2 separate regions of the Homo sapiens genome follow, and region 2 is linked to region 1. The links are contacts of gene promoters, found by promoter capture Hi-C in human tissues and cell types (Jung and others, 2019). All regions are on one chromosome and are shown on one strand. The core of a region is centred on a gene start or on the middle of the fragment in contact, and the rest is flanking DNA. Distances in the headings are between cores, read along the strand shown.

Region 1 (2,866 bases), core at 288-2,787:
TGCCCAGCTGCTCCAGGGCTCTGGGGTGCGACAGTGTTGGTGCTCATGACCCTGCTCACAAGAAGGCCCAGCCCATCTCCAGGGACCTCTCCTCTGACAAGGAGGAAGTTATGGGGGGAAGAGTTCCCAGCTTCCCCGCTAGAAGCAGCACCCGCAAACAGACCTCAACCCAGAACCTCAGGGCCAGAAGAGTGCTCAGCAGCTGGTGGACCTTTTGTGCTGAGGAGGAGGCTGAGGCTTAGCGCAGGTGTAGACTTGCTCAGGTCCACAGCCCAGGCCCCGAGCCCTTTGCTCTGGCCCTTTGGTCTGGTGGTAGAACACTGGGGAAGGCTGAATGGCGGGGAGGGATGTCAGTGTCAGGCCCCCATGCTCCCTCCATGTCCCTTCAAGCCTGGGGACACTCGCCTGCATGTGCACCCCTTGTCCTCCATCAGCCTTTTCCCCCTCCCAGCCTGGGGCCGCTTCCCTGCCCCCAACCCCATTCCTGAGATGCATGGGCCAGGGCATGAATGGTGGACACAGGCCTGAGACAGGCAGAGTGCCATGGCCTCGGGACAGAGTGGGCAGTGCTCACCAATGAAGTTTCCGAGGTAGAGTCCAGGAAGTACCTAGAGGAAGGACAGGCAAGGGTCAGTGGGGCAGGGGCTGCACCCCCTTCCACCCCCAGGGCAGCTGGGGGGCCCACAGCCCCTCTCTGTCCCATGAAGGGTATGGACCTCAGGGCTCAGGGAGCACTCTCTTCCCTTTTGTGGGCCCTGAGTCCTCTGTGAGAGGGGTCTGGGGCTCTGGGGAGGGTAGGCTAGGGGGCCAGTTAACCAACCGAGGGAACCAAGGGAGGCCAGCTTGGGTATGAGAGGGGAGAGGAGGAAGGCAGGTCTTAGGAGGAGAGGAGAGGAGAGAGGTAGACTTGCAGGGTGCAGGGATGGAAATTCTGGGGCTGGGGAGGCAGAAAGGCAATGACAGGCAGAGGCGGGACAGGATGGAGAAACAGCCCCGGAGAGAGCCGAGGAGTCAGCGACAAGGGAGAGGGACACATGCAGACGGAGAGCAGGACTCACTGGGAGACAGCCTGGGAGTGACAGCCACAGCAAGACAGCGAGAGACACACAGAGTCACGGAGAGAGGGCGGACACAGCGGGGACAGAGACGCAGGGTCAGAGAGGGGGAGACCCGACAGCCGCGGTCTCGAGTCACAGGGACACGGAGATGCCGCCGCACGGAGACCGGCGAGAACAGAAGGTCAGAGGCGGGCGGACCGAGCTGGTCAGCGCCGGGCCGCGGCGGCCGGGGCGGGGACCGGGGAGGCTGCGCGGGGCCCGCCCCCTACCTTGGTCATGCCATTGCCCATGATCCCGGGGGCGGCGGTCCGGGTGCACCCCCAGCTCGCCGCCCGGGAAGCGATCCGGTCACAGCTGCCCTGACGGCCCAGGCCCGACGCCTGCAGCCTGGCGGGGAACGGGGGGCCTGGCGTCCGCGGCCCTGCCCAGCCCTGCCCAGCCACCGCCACCGCCCGCCGACCCCCGGCCCGGGAGGGAAATGGTGGTGGAGCCGCCGCTGCCACCGCCGCCGCCGCAGGCTCCTCCTACCCCTTCGGTCATGTGGGGCCCCCGCCTCGGGTCGCGGCGGGGGGCCGGACAAAGCCCCAGTGTGCCGGGCCCACGGCCCGCGGGACAACGGCAGTTTGTTGGGGCCGCGTGGGGCCGCCACCTCCGGAGGTGGGGGCGGGGGCCTTACCCCACCCTGGCACCGGCAGGCGCGGGCGGATGGGGGGATGTCGCCTAGAGCCCCCCGGCCGGCCCACAAACTCCCGTCCCCCTTCCGGCTCTGCCTGGACGTCCCTGCGGGCCCCGGGGGAAAGCACCCAACTTCTCCCGCCTCGGCTTCTAGCAGAAACGTGACGGGGCTGGACTTTGATCGCCGAGGGCTCTCTGCTCTTCAGAGTCTGCTTGGAACGGGATAAGTGGGTAATTCCTTCCGATACATCCTCTCCACCCGTGCAGAGACACCCTACCAACCAGCCTTCCTCCTTTCCCATCCATTCTCCCACCCTCCTGTTCACTCATTCACTCGTCCATCTTCCCATCCATTCATCCATCCTCTCACTCCTTCCTTCCATCCATTTCGGCCCCTAGGAGGGATGGTGCCATCCAGGGAAGCTCTGCTGGGACCAGGCACAACTGCCATTAGGTGCCCCAAGAAATTACAGGTGAATGTTGGGAGAGGGGTTTGAGGGAGGGTTCCAGTCTGAAGGAGACTACATCAGGATGTATTAATAGCTAGAGGTCAGGGTCCTGGAAGGGGTCTGGAGACCAAGGTTTGAGGCCCTGTTCACCTCTGACCTGCTAGATGACCCTGGGAAAGTCCCCGTGACCCCCAGCTAACCCTATCTGTGTTTCTGAGGATGTTGAGGTGAGCCCTTCCTGGCTTCTAGGACCAAAGCTGGAGAATGTAAAATAATCAAGACACTTCCTATAGGACTGAAATAGAAGCAGCTGCACCAGCTTTGTTCCTTCAGCCATCACCCCCACCCCTCAATCTATAGTAGTAGGTGACTGGGGATTGTGGATAGAGAGCAGGACAGAGAGAATCCACAGAGCCCTTTGAAATACAGTGATTGGAGAAAAATAAAACTGTTTCTTCCTCCCTCAAGTTCATAGCATACATGGGGCTGCCCGTCTCAGCTCTCATAAAAGCCCAGAGTTCTCATAAATACCAAATTATTCAGTAAATACTTACTGAGCATCTAGTATATGATAGAGACTAGGGACACAGCAGTGGGTAGAGATTGTTCCTACCTTCATTAGCTAATGGTATAGACCAGCATTGTCCAAATGAAATATAATGCCAGCCACATGTGCAGCCACAT
Region 2 (2,964 bases), core at 214-2,713, 100 kb after region 1:
GTTTGTAGGGATAACAATCTAATAGCTCTTAGGTTGAATGTGGCTTGTGGAAGTGTTTTGTGTGGCTTGCATAGTATTTTAAAAACCCAGAGTCGTAGCTTCCCTTTAAAAAAATTGGATCTAGCAGTATCAATCCTGTAACAATTTAGAAAGAGTCTATGTGCTCTAATTTGTCCATCTTTCCCTTTGATCATATCTGTACTATTTCACTTAGACATGAAAGCCCTAATTTACAGTTCTATAACAATTATTTTATTAAACACTGACTTTGTGCCAAGCCTACTGGTTGCCTTTTTACCTGCTTTATTTCCTGTACCCCTTCTAATCATCCTGTCATGTGGTTAGCATTATAATTTCTACTTGACAGATGAGGGAATGGAGGCTCAGAGAGGGGGCATCCTTGTCCAAGGTCACACAGCTAGGAACTTGAAGAGCTGAGACTCCAGGCTCTCTGCCTTTAAAGCCTGAGTTCAATTTATCCACCTTGTAATTCTGCCACTAAAGTGTCCCTCAAGCTTAAAGAAGTATGAATCTGAGATTCCAAGATTCCAGTATGATAGAAAGTCAGGGCTTCTGTTGCACTGAGATAAGAATGTGAAAAGAGGGGCAGGGAGTTGAACTATGTGGGTGAGGACGGGAACAGTGTGTATTGTGGGGAAAAGGCTGGATTCGGGGGTGGTCTGGTCAGGAGGCTGACATCTTTATCCTAGTTTGTAACTATAGTTTGCTGGGTGACCTTGGGCAAGGCTCTTTCCATCTTTGGGTCTCGGTTTCCCTGTGTGTGAAATGAGATTCAATGTGATGACCTTAAGAGTTTCCCATTCCTGAAATTCTGACTCTGGGTCTATTGCCAAAGCAAAAGCCTCTGGGCCCTTGCCCCCAAAATCTTTGGATTCTAAAATGGCTAAGGGCCTGGATAAATGGAGGGAAAACCCAGAGAAGGTATAGAGAAGCTGCAGGGGCTGGCATTCCTAGAAATTAAGCAATGTTGGCCCAGCACATTTGCTTACCACGTGAGATGTTCCCACAGATGTTCTGAGTGGTGGGGCCTGGGGTAATGAAGAGGGAGATGTGTGATTGAGTCCTCCAGAATCACACCTGGGAGGCTAGGCAGTCACTCACCTCCTGATCCCATTTCCTCAATTCTGAATAAAATAATTATAATCATGAAGATATTTTTCAACCTCTTAGACTTGTAAAATCCTGAATTAAAAATTCAAATGCTTTGAGGACCCAGGCAGGTAACAGACCATAAGACCATAAGATACAAGGGGTGTCAGACAAGAGGACATTCAGGGGCAAGTAGTGTCCGAGGAAAAGGGAAGCTCCAGCTGATCATGCCATGAGAAATCGTGGACCCAGTCTTGATTTCTCAAGAGAAATGGGAAATTGGGATTTTTCCGTGAACTCTCCAAAATTTAACTACTAATTAAAATGTTTAAAAATAGTGTCAACCAAAGGAAACATATTTATTAGCCTGTCTTCTTTGTAACCTCTGGTTTAGCTCTTCAAATTGATAAGGTCTTTTCACACAGAAGATTTTATTACTAATTTAAACATAAAATGAAGCTCTGAAGAGAGAGAGGAGGAGAAAGCATACACAGACACTGCACACCTACCGTGTCCCCACAGGCCCTGTGTGAGTGTTTCAGGCATGTGATCTCATGTTACTCTGAAACCCTCCCCCCTGGTGACTATTGATATACCCATTTATCAGATAAGGAACCTTGTCCAAAAGTCACCCACTGAGGAAGTGAGGAAAGGTGATCAGTCCCAAACCTAGCTCTATCTTTTACACCACACACTGGCTACTTTGGGACATGCCAGAACAATATCTTTGTGCACAGAGAGATTGAACTCTGAGGGAACAGCAAACAGATCCTCTGGCGGGGCACGAAGCTGGCTGTGGCCTGGACACCAACCTGCAACTTCATCCCTCCCTTCCCTTTAAACTCTCTGAGCTGTTAAACTGCCCAGGGTTCTTAAGCTAATTAAAGTCCTAACCCTGTCCCCTCTGACCCTGTAGGCAGCAGAGCAGTAAGCCATGAATCCTGCTTTTCCTAATCTTGAGCTCAGTGGGCCCCAGCTTCACCCAGATAAGCATGGTTTGCTAAGCCAATTAGTGGGAGACGATCTGACATGGGATTCCTGCCAGGCTTTCGGGATCTGGGAACCCCAAAATGGGGAGAAAATTAGGCAATTGGGATTTAGGGGCCCTCCCTCTAATGCCCTCTCTATGCATAGGCCCAGACACTGCACTCTATGTCACCTAAGAAGCCCTGCATGACAGAGAAGTTCTGGAATGAGTTAGTGACCTATTGGAAGGAAATGTCAGGCTCTGGATTTCCCCTCTGGGAAACTACATTCTTGGCATAACGGTTGAGAGGGTTGAGAGCACGGACTCTAGATTCAAGTGTCCTCAGTTTAAATCCAGACTTTACTACTTCTTATATGTGACCTTGACAAGGCAAATAATCTCTCATCCGTTGTAAACTAGGGACCAAAATTGTACCCACCCGCCTCTTAGGTTGTTTCAAGGTTTAATGAGATAATGTGTAAGGGTTCAGCAAAGGGCTCATTCCATCGTTAAATGCTCAGAAACTGCTGGCAATGATTAGTGCATTAGCTTGGGCTTTGCTCCCTGTGGAACAAAGCTTTGTTCACGGAGCACATGGCAGGACAGCAAGGGGGTCCTGAAGTCCCTTGAAGCCATAATGACATGGCAGTCATTCATTTAATCTGCAGTCATTCATTCAGCAGACATTTATTAAGCACCTGCTGTATACCAGGCACTGTTCTAAGTGCTGGGAATAGAGTGGTGAACAAGACAAAGTCCTTGCCCTCTTGGAGCTCAATAGCCTAATGAAGGAACCAATAAGAAAATAAACTATGATATATATTATATGGGATATATAATACCTGGGCCAGATCGTGATAAGTGCTATGGGGAAAAAAATGAAACAG

The links. The method cuts DNA at HindIII sites, captures the fragments that hold promoters and counts their contacts. A contact is called where the count stands out against the background at its distance.
Region 2: a contact is called between a fragment that was not itself captured here and the fragment with the promoter of DUSP15 in region 1, in 5 of the 25 tissues and cell types used here (H1 embryonic stem cells, IMR-90 fibroblasts, aorta and 2 more).

Annotation. Positions count from the first base shown.
Region 1 is chr20:31,868,990-31,871,855 of GRCh38, forward strand. DUSP15 (dual specificity phosphatase 15) reads right to left here and starts at 1,538. Exons shown (of 7, transcript NM_080611.5): 1 at 1,328-1,538; 2 at 575-608. The coding sequence starts at 1,348. TTLL9 (tubulin tyrosine ligase like 9) reads left to right here and starts at 1,645. Exons shown (of 15, transcript NM_001008409.5): 1 at 1,645-1,960; 2 at 2,133-2,206. The coding sequence starts at 2,138. RefSeq lists silencers at 1,185-1,454, 1,475-1,574. The HindIII fragment of the contact is 13,568 bases long and covers 1-2,866 here.
Region 2 is chr20:31,970,550-31,973,513 of GRCh38, forward strand. All of the region lies in intron 1 of XKR7 (XK related 7), which reads left to right. Among named protein-coding and RNA genes, the nearest start is that of XKR7, 3.9 kb to the left of the region's middle. RefSeq lists enhancers at 1,527-2,028, 2,029-2,528 and a silencer at 1,617-1,911. The HindIII fragment of the contact is 4,685 bases long and covers 1-2,964 here.